Regions from separate parts of the Homo sapiens genome. Here region 2 is linked to region 1. Evidence: promoter capture Hi-C in 16 types of primary human blood cells and fetal thymus (Javierre and others, 2016). All regions are on one chromosome and are shown on one strand. The core of a region is centred on a gene start or on the middle of the fragment in contact, and the rest is flanking DNA. Distances in the headings are between cores, read along the strand shown.

Region 1 (7,126 bases), core at 1,943-4,442:
GGCTCCAGGCATATTAAACGCATCACTTCATCTAAGCCTGCTGGCAAGGCTCCAGGGCACAGGTGGGGAACATGAGGCAGCTCAGCCCCCTTTCCAATGGCCAGCTGCCTTCCCTGACATGGTTGCTGCCTTATCCTCACCCCAGAGAAGGGGGAGTAGAGGATAGACCTTAAATTCTTTTTTTTTTTTTCTTTGAGACAGAGTCTTGCTCTGTCACCCAGGCTGGAGTGCAGTGGCGCAATCTCAGCTCACTGCAACCTCTGCCTCCCAGGTTCAGGCGATTCTTCTGCCTCAGCTTCCCAAGTAGCTGGGATTACAGGTGCATGCCACCACACCCAGCTAATTTTTTTTTTTTAATCTTTAGTAGAGACGGAGTTTCACCATATTGAGCAAGCTGGTCTTGAACTCCTGACGTCGTGATCCGCCACCTCCCAAAGTGCTGGGATTACAGACGTGAGTCACCACGCCCAGCAAATTTTTTTTTTCTTGAGATAGGGTCTCACTTTGTTGTCTAGGCTGTAGTGAGTGCAGTGGCACAATCTTGGCTCACTGCAGCCTCAACCTCCTGGGCTCAAGCAATCCTCCCACCTCAGCCTCTCAAGTAGCTGGTACTACAGGCACATAGCATCATGCCCAACTAATTTTTTTATTTTTTGTAGAAATGAAGTCCCACTATGTTATCCAGGTTGGTCTTGAACTCCTGAGCTCAAGTGATCCACCCACCTCAGCCTCCCAAAGTGTTGGGATTACAGGCATGAGCCACTGCTCCTGGCCGACCTTAAATTCTTGAAAGACTGTAAAAGGGAACACAGATCAGACTTCTATTTCATGTCTCCAATGGGTGCAAGGACCAAAGGGTAGAAGTCAACAGGAAGCAGTTTTTGTTAAAATGTGAGAACATCCTAACAATCAGAGCTGTCTGGCTGCCTTGCAGGCATTGAGCTCCCTAGAGGTGTGCAAGAGAAGCTGGATAGCCTCATTTCAAAAATGAAATAGAGGCAGAGTGTGGTGGCTCACACCTGTAATCCCAACACTTCGGGAGGCCAAGGCGGGCAGATTACTTGAGGTCAAGTGTTCGAGACCAGCCTGGCTAACATGGCAAAACCCCGTCTCTACTAAAAATACAAAAATTAGCTGGGTGTGGTGGTACACCTGTAATTCCAGCTACTCAGGAGGCTGAGGCACAAGAATTGTTTGAACCTGGGAGGCAGAGTTTGCAGTAAGCTGAGATCACACCACTGCACTCCAGCCTGGGTGATATGTTTCCAAAAATAAAGAAATGGGAGAATCTGTTAGGCTCATGAGGGATTTGACTAGGAAACTCTTGAGAGTTCTTCCAATTTACATTCCAGAACCCTAAGATGATATGATTCTAAGACTTTGGTTCTAAGATTTTATTAGAACAAAAGACAATCCCTATCTTCAAAGAACTCACAACCTAGCAGATGGGGTGGACAAATGGTTACTTTCTATAACTGTCATAGACAGTCCTACAGAGTAAATGCAAGGCCGTGGGCAGGATCTGAGAAAGAACCCTGACCAAGCCAGGACTGCTTCCTCATGGCTAGTCTCAAGAACCATTTGCATCAGAGTCATTTGGAAATCTTGTTTGAAAATGCTGATTTCTAGGCTCTACTCCAGATTTCCTGAATTAGAACCTCTGGAGTGGAGCCCAAAAGTCTACTTAGTAAAACAAGCTCCCCAGGGGATTCTTAGGCAGATTGAAAACTGAGGTTGCAGGATGGGCACAGTGGTTCATGCCTGTAATCCCAGAACTTTGGGAGGTGGAGGTGTGCAGGTCACTTGAGCCCAGGAGTTCGAGATCAGCCTGGGCAACATGGAGTAACCCAATTTCTATAAAATACAAAAATTAGCCAGACATAGTGGTGTGTCCCAGTTACTCAGGAGGTTAAGGGAGGAGGATCACCTGAGCCCAGGAGTTCAAGGCTGCTGTGAGCCATAATCACTCCACTGCACTCCAGCCTGGGTGACACAGTGAGATCCTGTCTAAAGGAAGGAAGGAAGGAAGGAAGGAAGGAAGGAAGGAAGAAAGAAAGGAAGGAAGGAAGGAAACTGAGATTGCATGCTTAGGTGATTAGGATGACTTTTCTGAGAGGTGATCTCCAGACTGAGAAAAAGGAATAGTAGGGTCAAAACAAGGTGGGTACAATATACCCACCTTGTATATTGTATACAATATACAATATACCCACCTTGTAGTAGGTCTTTTTAAAACGATAGCACTTCTTAGATATATTCTGGGATTCTGTAATTGAGAGTATGTGCTTCAGATATCCTGGAGCAGACCTTTGCAAGGGAGTGAAAGAGCTGGCCTGAGGCTGTTATTAATTATTCTGAGGCAGTGAGCTGGTAAAAGGGCACCCCACAGGGTCCCCCGGAGAAATTCTCTGCAACTGTCCCTTCCTCTGCCACTAGCCTCCTGGCTCTTATTCCTCAGCTGCCCCGGCTGCCCCAGTTCTCTGAAGCCTGCAATGTCACCAGCAAGGAAACAACAGTTTGAGTGAGGGCATGGTGGTGGGAAAATAAACTGTTCTGGGACAGAGATGAGTAAGGTGCGGCTGAACACAAGTTGGTCAGGCACTGTCACGAACTTTTGAGGCTTGGTGGAGGAAACATTTGCTGGTGCTACTCAGAGACAGAGGGGTGTGTAGTGGATTTTGGGTCTGGGCTCTGCTACCTGGGCAAATCCCTTCTCCAACTGGGCCTCTGCGTCCTGTGTGGAAAAGAGTTTGTGTAAGAATCATATTATTTTGCTGTTGACCCTTTGGTTTTAATACTTTGGACTCAAAGGTCTCATCTGACCTCAACCATAAGCCTGTGAAGAATGCATGGAGGAACTGTACCAACTTTACAGCCAGGCCAAGGCCCAGTGAGGGGCAGCGACTCGCCCACCACCACACAGCCACACTGGAGCAAAACCGACTCCTGGAGATCGGCCTCATGCTGGGCTTGCTGAGGCCCAGCGGAGCGAGAGGCTTTCGGTCTCTGGTCCAGGAAGCAGGCGCTGCAGGGGACGGAAGGGTCGGAGCCCACAGCCGGGGGAGGCCAAGGAGCTGGGCGGAGGCACTCCAGGCCAGCCCGGGGAGAAGTGGGTGTGCTGGGGCCCGGGCGGGGCAGGGGGAGGGGACGCCCGGGGGAGGGAAAAGGGAGCCGAGCGCGGGTGGGAGCCCAGAGCCAGAGAGCGCGCTGGGCGGTGCTGGGCACCCGCGGAGTGGAACGGGGCTGGTGGAATGCACAGGGTCGCAGCGCTTGGGCCACCCTCGGTCAGAGGGCGCCGTGTCCAGCGAGCAAACGGGCGCCCCGGAGCCTTGCTGAGAGGCAGGTAAGGCACCCACCCAGCTGGGAAGGCTGAGCTGCGGCCTGGGGTGGAAATGAGGGGTCTTCCCGCCTCCCTTCCAAGGGCCACGGCGCGCTCTCCGTGAGACTGTGGAACCGAGGGGGAGTGGGGGAGGGGTGGGCGCTGCAAATACCAAGCTAGTCCTCCCGGATCCTCCCCGATCCTCCCGAGCGCAGTGATCGTGGAGCAGCATGTGGGAGTAGGGAGCTGGGCTCTGCGCGCCCCGTCTGGAAACCGTGGGGACTTGCGCCGTTATTCCCAGCCCTCAAGACGGCCACAAGAAAAGTTCCTCCACACCCACAGACGTGCAAGCGAACACTTGCAGCTGGCAGCCAGTGCACACGCAGAAACGACATTTCAGGACCCAGCACAGTCTCATTTGGCTGGAGCCACCGGCTCTGCGGAGCTGACTTGCCCATTCCCTCTACACCTCACTGTGTCCTTCACCCTGTCTGACCTAGTCCCGGGAAACCTGGTGACTCCCAAAAGCATCTTCTGCTGCCAGTAACATAGGTCGAGGCTGGGAGTCGGGAGACTTGAGTTCTAGTTTACAGGCTGTGTAAACCCGGGCAGTCATCCCTCAGCTCTGCGCCTTGTGCTCGCTTTTCCTGGGCCACCATTTGTAAAACGGGCCTCCTGCTCCTGTTGCCTGCATACCCCATGGGACAGAAGGGGAAAGGGGGATTGGACCTCAGAGTCTCTTATCTCGAAAATAAATGAGTTTAGTTCTTGCGTGAAAGCCCACCAGAGTATCCCTCCTAAAATCCTCTCCACTAATTTGCATATAGGGAAACTGATGCCCCAGGGGAGATGATTTACCTAAGGTTACAACAGAGACCAAACAGAATTAGAACCCAAGTTTCCTCAGTCCTAGCCCAGGGCTCTCTCCACTTCACCTACAAAGGCATGTTGTAAACGTGTGAGCTCCTCCTTATTTCCTTGCATCCGTCCACTTTGTCTGTTCCTGATGGAGGAAGACCCATGCTGGGGGCCTAGAAGCTGCTTTCAGATTTTCTTGACTCCTTGAGATGATAACCATCACCTTCTCCATCCCTCACTCAGTCTATACGTCTCAAAGCACATCCATAAACTTAATGTGCGAGTGCTCAAAATACCTTCTAAGAGGGAAGCAAGACAAGAAACTCCATCTTACTGATGAGGAAAATGAGGCCTAGAGGGATATAGACTTAGAGTGATAAAGTTACTTAACCAAAACGCACGGCTAGACGTGTTGGCCTAGTAGGGGCAGGAACCCAGGTCTCCTGATTCCCCCTCTGATGTGTTCTCCACCAGCTACAGGACTACAGAATGGTACCCCTCAATGATAAGGGACTGCGGGAATGATCATAGAGGGTAGGAAACAGGAAGGCTTCTGGAGAAGGTGAGGTTCCTGGGAATCAAGAAGAATAATAAGAACCTCCTGGCTGCTTCTGAGGCTAGGAGACCTGGAGTGGGAAAGGAGACACAGAGATGGTTGTTCTTGGTAATATGGGGGGAAAGGAAAGATGTGGAGACAGAAAAGGAAAACAGTGTGACCAGCCTGCCTGATAATTATCTTGTATGTTTGCAATTTCTAAAACATTCCCATCTCTTGTCTCCTCTAGTTCTCATGTGTGGTAGGCAGGGCAGGGATCATTATCCCCATCTTATAGATGAGGTTCAGAGGAAGTAAATGCAGTGCTCAAGGACACAGAGCCAAGCATACAGCCAAGATTAGAATCATGAAAGGAACACTTGAACGGCAAGATCACAGGCTGAGGGACTGGGGAGTTGGACTGTGTGTGTGTGTGCAGTGGGTGGGTGTATGTGGCCACACCCTGGGTAGGTACACAGGGAAGAGGGTTGCAAAGCCATTGCTGGTGTTTTGAGGCCAAGAATGTTTGCCCTTTGGATTGAATGGGGTCCAGGTGCAGGGAGCATCTGGGCTTCCAAAGAAGGCTTAGAATTCTTCCTCCTCTGACTCACCCCACCTGACTGAGATGGCTTCTTTTCTTTGAGCCATCCCTTCCCCAGACCAAATGAAATCTGTTTTGCCCTGCCCTGGAGGTTGCTTTTTAAATATTGTAAACTGTTTTCATGAATGTATGTGCGTGTGCCAGAGCGGGGGAATGCTCTTAGAGAAGAGGCATTGATTCATTTATTCTTGAATGCCTGCTAGGTATCAGGGCTGGGAAATAAAGAAATGTATGAGGCACAGGACCCTGCCCTCTTACCTTAAAGCGCACAGTTACACACATACACATACACACACACACATACACACACACACACACACACACAGAGTTTCAGTACAGTATAGTGCTCTAATAAGCCTTCGTGCAAAGCACTTTTGGGAAAAAACAAGAGGGAGAGACTAACTGGCTAGGGAGTGAGGAAGGAGGAGTCCCAGGAGAAGGTCTGCAGAGATGAATTGGAGTTGGGTCTTGAAGGATGAGTAGGAGTTTGCCAGGCAGGTAAAAAGAGGAAGGGCATTCTTGTTTAAGAAAACAGCATGAGCAAAGGCAAGAGATGTGCAAGTGCAAGGAATATTTGGAGAGTGGCCTGTACTTCAGTGTCATGGGTGCAGGCCACTGAAAAGAGCTGTGGGGAGATGAGGCCAGTGTCAGAGTCACATTTCAAGGAGCTTCAGTGGTAATCAGAAGAGTTTAGAGTCTGCCCTACTGGCAGAAGGGAACTTATAGTGGAAAGGTCTGTGGAGGGGAAGTCAAGATACTTGGTTTCTGGCTCCAACTCTGCCACTACTGAGCTGTGAGACCTTAAGCAGGTGATTCCCTTGGGGAGGAGGGTCTATTTTCCCACTGGTTGAATGAGGGGGTTGCACCAACAACATGATCATGAAGATCTCTTCCAGCTCAGATTCTATTCCTTTGTCCTTCCAACTGGATGCTAAGGGCTACTCCTTCAACTCCTCTCCCACTCCACCAGCTCTCCAATCCACAGGAGTGGTAAGACCACCAAGGGGACAGTGGTAAAACTGTGCACCCCAGGAACTGTCTTTGGATCACCTACCTGCTTTATGTGACTTTTTCTACCTACCTCTCTGTACTTCATTTCCAGACACTGAAGACGCTCATTCTGAAAGAGTAGCTGAAACGGAGTGACGGGAAAGAAAGACCCAAGGGTAGAGTTTCACTTTTCCCCAGAGCAACCTGAATGAAAACCCCACTAAGATCCCCAGTTCATCCCTCAGATCACAGCTTTATTCCCCAACTTCCAAGTTAGGGGTTGGACAAGTGTAAGGCAAGTGCAGTTTGTGAGAACCTGTGAATGTATGGGAAATAGCAGGAACAGAGAGTGAACCTGGCTCATCTGGGGAATCAGGAGTAGGTCTGGAGCAGTGGGGTGCATGGAAGATGAGAGCATAAACGAAGTCTAACTCCTCCTCCCAAGCTTACCAACCTCCATCTCACTGGATCATTGACTAAGATTGGCGAGAATCTGTGGTGCATGAAAAGGCCATAGTGACGAAGTTAGAGGAGATGATGCCCCATGACACTAACAGGCTGTGTCTGGTGTGATGTGAAGCTTAGGTGTGAGGAAACACTGCCATTTGTAGTGGAAAGAGCACCTGAACAGTAGCCCAAACACCTGGGTTCTTGTCTGAGTGCTGCCATTTATGGGCCATGTCATTTTGGACTAGTCACTTCTCCCTTCTGAGCCTCAGTTTCCTCATCTACGAAATGGAGGGGTTGGCCTGGAATCTAGATTCTAGATGATCCTTAAAGTCCCTCTCAGCTTGGCCATCTGCTCACCTTCCTTCCTCACTGG
Region 2 (7,126 bases), core at 1,785-4,284, 210 kb after region 1:
GAGTTCACACAGCCAGGGGCAGAACCAGGATCTGGAGCTTGGGGGAAAGTCTCCCCGTTCCCCTAACTGCTTCTAACCTCTTTCTGGACTTTTCTCTCTTCCCCACTGTGGACCCCCACAATTTTCTCCCCCTTTGGAATCAGAGCCTGCCTCTTTCCCTTCTTTCTCTCTGCCACATCCCTCTTTATATTCACTTCATTGGTCACAGGACCCCTCCTATCAAGTGCTTGATCTGCCCATTCTCCCTAAGGTTTGAGTGACAGAGTTTCCCTGTCCTTGACAGGGGCATGTTTGCATTAGAAATGGGTAGCCTGGTGTAATCAAGGATTATCTCAAAGGAATGAGGTACTAGGAGTGGATTCTAGGCACTAGATGCCTGCGTGGTGACAGTGTTTTTGGTTAAGGGTTCAAGGGCATCGCTCAGATGGAGCCCCATAGATAATGACATCTCTACCATCTTTAAAGCCCACCACATTTTCAGATGGAGCATAACTAAAAAATAATGACCACCATGTCTCCTGTTCATCTGCTTATCACGTTATGGGACTGGAGGGCAGTAGTTAGTTCCCCTGCCCCAGAAAAGTAAAGCAACTTGCCCATAATTACGCTGTGTGTCAGTGTCAGCTCAAGACTAGAAGCAAGGTTTCCTGGCTCAGAGACCCATGCTTTTTCCAAAGCGCCATAGGTGCTTCTTGGAACAGTTGCACAGTGGGCAAATAATGGTACCAATATTTGATGGTATTTTAATGAGCACAGACTGCATGTGTGGCCTGTCATTTATTCATTCAGCTAAGCATTCCTGATGTTGCCTCTGGGTCAGGACCTTTGCTGGGGCTGAGGATGCTGGGATGACTGATTGAGTCTCTGACCTTGAAGAGCTCCCAGAAAAGAGAACCCACAGTGACTATACTAGTGAAATACTAGTGAAAATACTGACATATGTGAAAATAGTTACAATCCCAGCAAAATACTAGTGAAAGAGGAACATATAACATGTTATTGATAACGGCAGGAAGCAGACAAATGCCTAGGCAGATAGGGTCAGGTCCCCAGTGAAACCCAACCTTCAAGCCAAAGACAGTGTAAAGTCTAGCTACAAGTCCCAGGTAAACCCATGGACCAGATTAAGAACCTGTTTTCCCATTCAGTGTGCTTTCCTCTGATTGCTCCCCACCTTTCACCTATTTTACATATACCTACCCTTTCCTAATTTTTTTTTATACTGTGAATGGTGTCTTTGCTTTAACCTTTTTTGCATACTCACAAGCCAGTCAGCACACGCTCCCCATTCTGAGTCCATAAAAAGCCCCAGACCCAGGCAGAGAGAGATAGAGAAACCACCTGTCTGCAGGGGTTGGGGACCACCCCTCACATCCCATCTCCACTGAGAGCTTTTCCATCACTCATTTAAATTCTTCTCTGCCCATCCTCACTCTTCAAATTGTCACATATCCTCATTCTTCTTGGACATGGGGCAAGAGCTCAAGAACCCCTGAATGCGGGTACAAGCTATAGCACAGGTGGGTCAGTGGGCATGGCACCTCTAGAGGCAGGTCTGTGGCCACGTGAGGCCTGGGCAGGGGGCATCGCTGGCCATGGAGGTCCCCAGTTGGCAAGTAGCTGGGAAAAATCCTGTGTCATTACCAAAGTCGTGAGACATGATTATGTCTTTCATGTGATGGGGGTCATGTGAGTTTTGGTTTGCATATTGAAGGATAAGGAGGTCCATATGTGCATATGGAGGTGTGAAGGCTTATCACCCTAACTCACAGGTCCTTAGATTAACATTTGTCCAACTCTTATTTAGGTTGATGCAAAAGTAACTGCAATTTTTGCCATTACTTTTAATGGTAAAAAAACACAATTACTTTTGCACCAACCTAATAAAACCATTTGTGCTCTTTTGATAAACCTAAAGCTTTCTTTAGTCTTACAAATGCAGATATATCACTCTAGGAGAAAAGATTTTGTCTAACTTTATGATCTGTAATCTGTTTTTTGGAAAAACATTATTTTTCCATTTACCAAATAAAAAATTACATTAAATCTTCTTTTAAAAATTGTACATGGTCCCCTAAGGGGCCCCCCTCCCAATTGTGAGAAACTCTCACAATTCTCTCCAGATTCTGGGGTTCTAGAATCTCTGTTTTTTACTCTCTTGCAACAAAAAGGGGAACAGGAATTGTCAGCGGGCTCACCCTGAATGAATGGTTTTATCCTGCTGCCACTGTGTGAGCTGCTAAGCCTTGTGAACCCTCCAGGGCCTGGGGCTAGAGACACCCTCCCTCCCTATCCAGCTCCCTGGGTCCCTCTGTCTCTTATGATGTTGGGGTGGGACAGGTAGGGCAAGCCCCAAGTCCCTGGGCCAGCCAGCATCAGCCCACATTTCTGACCCTAAAGCCCTCCTTCTCCCTCCACATTTGCAGTCTTGAAATGCAAATAAGGAACCACTTCACACTTCCTAGGATGGATACAATTAAAAAACAGAAAATAAGTGTCACTACGGATGTGAAGAAACTGGAACTCTCATGCGTTGCTGGTGGGAATGTGAAATGGTGCAGCCACTGTGGAAAACAGATTGGTGATTTCTCAGAAAGATAAACATAGAACTGTCATCTGACCCAGTTATTCCACTCCCAGGTATGTATCTGAAAGAATGGAATGATAGCTGTACACCCATGGTCATAGCAGCTTTATTCACAATCGTCAAAAGGTGGAAGCAAACCCAGATGTCCGTCAAGAGAATGGCTAAACAAAATATGGAATATGCATTTAATAAAATATTCAGCCATAAAATGGAACAGAATTTTGATACACACTACAACATGGATGGACTTGAAAGCATTATGCTAAATGAAATAAGCCAGACACAAAATAAATATTGTAGGATTCCACCTATGAGCTACCTAAAATAGGCAAATTCAGAGACCAAAAGCAGAATAGAGCTTGGGGACGCAGGCAGGAGTTATTGCTTAATGGGTACAGAGTTCTTGCTGGGGATGATGAAAAAGTTGGGGTATAGATAGTGGTGTGGTCCACAGCCTTGTGAATGTAATTAATGCCACTGAACTGTTCATTTCCACATGGTTAAAATGAGAAATACTGTGTTAGGTAGAGTTTACTATTTTTTTAAAAAATCCTGGTTAAAAGTTTTTTGTTTGTTTTGTTTTGTTTTGTTTGAGACAGAATCTTGCTCTTGTCGCCCAGGCTGGAGTGCAGTGGCATGCATGATCTCCACTCACTGCAACCTTTGCCTCCTGGGTTCAAGCAATTCTCCTGCGTCAGCCTCCTGAGTAGCTGGGATTACAGGCACCCACCACCACACCCGGCTAATTTTTGTATTTTTAGTAGAGACGGGGTTTCGCCATGTTGGCCAAGCCTCACTATCTGCCCACCTTGGCTTCCCAAAGTGCTGGGATTACAGGCGTGAGCCACCGTGCCCAGCCAAAAGTTTTTTGAGAAGGACGTCCCAGGGAGGATGCAGCATGGGCCACTGCTCTCAGGCCCCAGGGGCACACCGGCTTCCACTAATTCTGCCTGAGCAGCCCTACCCAGCAGGAGTAGGGGTAGAATTGCTGTGCCTTGGTCTCCCCGCCCTGTGGGGATTCCCAGTCAGGATGAATGAATCCCCTTATCTTCTTAGCACCATGGCATTTACTGTTTTTCACCTTATTACTGCAGGCAGCAGCTTTTACTATACTTGGATACTTAGGTCTCATTTAACCCTCATAACACCTAGTGAATTAAGGATTATCCCCCCATTTTGGGATGCAGAACCTGAAGTTCTGAAGGAAGTGATGTGCCAGAGGTCACCCAGCTAGTAGGAGGCTGAACTGAGCTTGGAGCATTCCTCTCATTATCAGGTCCTAGTCCTCCATGCCCCTGCCCCACCCCTCCTCTCCTTCTGCTATGGTGTGGGACTAAAAAGGCACTCGTCTGGAAGTCAGGTGGCCTGAGCTCTAGTCCAGATTGTGCTAAGGTATGACCCTGGACAAATCACTTTCCTTGTCAGACCCTCGAATTCCTCATCTGTAGGAGGCACTGCTGATTTGTCTGCCCTCCCCACTCCAGAGGAGTTAGGAGGTCTCAAAGGTTGTAAACGTGCTTTATAAATGATACAGACTGTATCATGTCAGTTATTCTAAGCTTGTTTGATTAGTCATTCTATAAGTCATTATGGAATGGCATCATTCTCATTAATCAGGAAGAAACTGTCTCTGTCAACACTCCATTCACTCCTCAGTCACCTATTGCCTGCACCTGGAAGAATCCAGCCTTTCTGCTAGTCTTGGGTTACAAGGTTTTGCCTGGCTATGGGCTGGAGTTTTCTAGCAAACTGCTGGGAGAGGAAGCCAGCTCGAGGAATAAGGGAGCCTCTTGAGTTGACATAACTTTCTGAGCCCTGGCCCCAGACTGAGAATGAGTTGATTCTGGCTGCTGATGGGGTGGCCAGCTGGAGCAGCAGAGTTGGCTCCAAGATTGCAAACAAAACAGTGACTGCAGGGAGGAGTGTGACTGCGTTTTGCTTTCTCTGCTGCTAGTGTAGGCTCTCTTCTTGCTTTTCCCTTGGTAAAATCTTGACCTTTCACTTCCAACCCCCACTTCTCATGACAGGCCCCTGCATCCAACTTAAGGGTTCTTGGCCCCTCACTTTTGAAATCTAACTAGTCTCTTTCTTGTTCATTCCACCTCCAAAATAATGAGACTATCCTGTTCTCTCAGCCCAGTGGCCACTGTTCTAATTAAGTATACCTGTGTCTTTTCCTTGCCCAATTACAACTGCCTCTTTACTGACCTCTTGGCCTCATGTCTGGCACCCACCAATCCATCTACACAGGCTACCAGAGTGACTTTCCTTTATAAAAAAGACCTGACCTTGTCTTTTTATATGGGGTCATGCCTATTTAATAACTTCTGGAAACTCCTTATTCTTGCCACTTAAGGCCTTTATGCCCTGACTCCCACCTTCTCTCCTGGCTCTTCTCCTATCTCGGCCCATACTCCAGCCACAGTCTTCTTCCTAGGCTGACTTTCAAGTCTCCAGCGCTTGTCTGTGCTGTTCCTTCTGAGATATCTTGCCCTTCCTCCTCCACCTCCACTTTGTGATACTTCAAGGCTCAACTCAAATGCTACCTCTTGGCTGGGTGTGGTGGCTCACTCCTATAATCCCAGCACTTTGGGAAGCTGAGGCGGGCAGATCACTCGAGGTCAGGAGTTTGAGACTAGCCTGGCCAACATGGCAAAACCCCATCTCTACTAAAAATACAAAAATTAGCTGGGCGTGGTGGCAGGCACCTGAAACCCCAACTACTTGGGAGGCTGAGGCAGGAGAATTGCTTGAACCTGGGAGGCAGAGGTTGCAGTGAACCAAGATTGTGCTGCTGCACTCCAGCCTAGGTGACAGAGGAGACTGTCTAAAAAAAAGAAAGAAAAAATGCTACCTCTTGTGAAACCATTCCTGGCCTGTTTCCAAATAGGTTTAGTTACTGCCCACCCCCAACCTTCTTACAACGTGGTCACTATTTCTATCACTGTCTCTCTAGACAATGAGTTCATTTTAAGAGCCTCATTATTTACCTCTGTCTACAAAGTCCATTGGATGCCTGGCACATATTGGGTGCTCGGGTTTGCTTAATCAGCAAATGCTCCTAACAGTATGTTAAGAGCGTGGGGCTATGAAGTCATGCCCCATTCCCCTCATGGCTTTGTCTTCAGTCCTCCCAGTCTCAAGATTCTGTCCCCCATCAGATCTACATCTGCCTCCAAAATGTGCCTACCTTCCTTTTTTGGGAAGGAGTTTCCCTTGGACTTTCACTAGTGTCTATGTGACAGGGCCTTTGGTTTGTCCCAAACATGCTCCTTCTGGCTTTGTGGCAATCCTTCATTCAAGGATTCTGGGATCTCCTTCTTTATTCCCTTCCTGAGTTCATACATGCTGATCTGTAGGCTCTGCAAGGACACTGTTATGGCCAACACATAGTAGGTGCTCGTTAAAGCCATGTTAAGTGAACACATGAATGGTCCCTTCTCTTCTGGGGTGTAATGGAATGCTCAGTAGACTTGGAATCAGAAGACAAAGATGCTGCCACTCTGGCCGTGGCTGTGGGCAAGCCATTTCAAATGTCTGAGCTTTTGCTTCCTTGCCTTTAAATTGGGGATAGTGCCTGTACTTCACAAGGATACAAAGGATGAATGGAGATGAAAGTGCCTAAAACACAACCAACCACAAAGCTCACGAGCATTTCATTCATTCTCAGCCTCCTCCATCAAGTGTAAAGAGGGTTCATCTCCACGGTCATCCTCCTTCTGCTCTTTTAAGTATCTGGTCCAAAATGACTTCTGCCCAGGGTCCCTTGTAGCATGCAGGAACAGAATGATGTGGAAGCAAGCCAGTTTTGAATTCTGACAGTCACTTCCAAGCTGTAGAATTTGGACCTGTCTGCCTACCTGTAAAAGGAACATAACAGCACCTACCTCATAGAGTTGCTGTGAAGATTAAATGAGATGTGTGTCAAGTGAATTAGATGACATTCAAAATTTGAGTGAACCTGATGAACCTGAGTGCCCCTGAAAACCAAGTGATCATGCTGCCCTCTTGTGGACAAGAGGGCACATAGCTCAGCAAAGGCACCCGCAAAGTGTTCCGGTGAGAGAAATCAAACCACACATAAGGAACTTCTCTCCTCTACTAGGGAGCTCATGAACTACCCTGAAATATTTCATCATCAACTAGACAAGAAATTTTCAGACATTGATGCACTTGTTAAAATGCAGATCAGTTCTGATTCAATAGGTCTGACATGGGGACACAGTTCTCTAACGAGCTTCCAAGAGATACTGATGCTATTGGCCCACAGACGGCCCTGAATAAAGTTCCTAACTATAACAATGTAACAGTGTCATAACAGGAACTACTTATTAAATGTCTTACCATGTGCCAGTTAGTGAGAAAGCCAGTTAACCTAGTTTAACTTGTATAATCCTCAAGACCCTGTGGGGTAGGTACGGTTTATCTCCATTTTTCAGATGAGTGAACTACAGCAGAGAGAAAGTTTGTTGCCATACCATACAGTGTAAGGGGTGGGGCTTGGGTTCTAATTTAGACACTCTGGCCCCAGAGCCTGCT

The links. The method cuts DNA at HindIII sites, captures the fragments that hold promoters and counts their contacts. A CHiCAGO score of 5 or more calls a contact.
Region 2: a fragment that was not itself captured here is called in contact with the fragment with the promoter of KCNE3 in region 1 in 5 of 17 cell types (megakaryocytes, M2 macrophages, naive B cells and 2 more); the score reaches 5.8 in megakaryocytes.

Annotation. Positions count from the first base shown.
Region 1 is chr11:74,463,615-74,470,740 of GRCh38, reverse strand. KCNE3 (potassium voltage-gated channel subfamily E regulatory subunit 3) reads left to right here and starts at 3,192. Exons shown (of 3, transcript NM_005472.5): 1 at 3,192-3,343. The HindIII fragment of the contact is 7,698 bases long and covers 1-6,750 here.
Region 2 is chr11:74,255,437-74,262,562 of GRCh38, reverse strand. It overlaps a transcript of P4HA3 not described here. Among named protein-coding and RNA genes, the nearest start is that of P4HA3-AS1, 52 kb to the left of the region's middle. The HindIII fragment of the contact is 2,228 bases long and covers 1,921-4,148 here.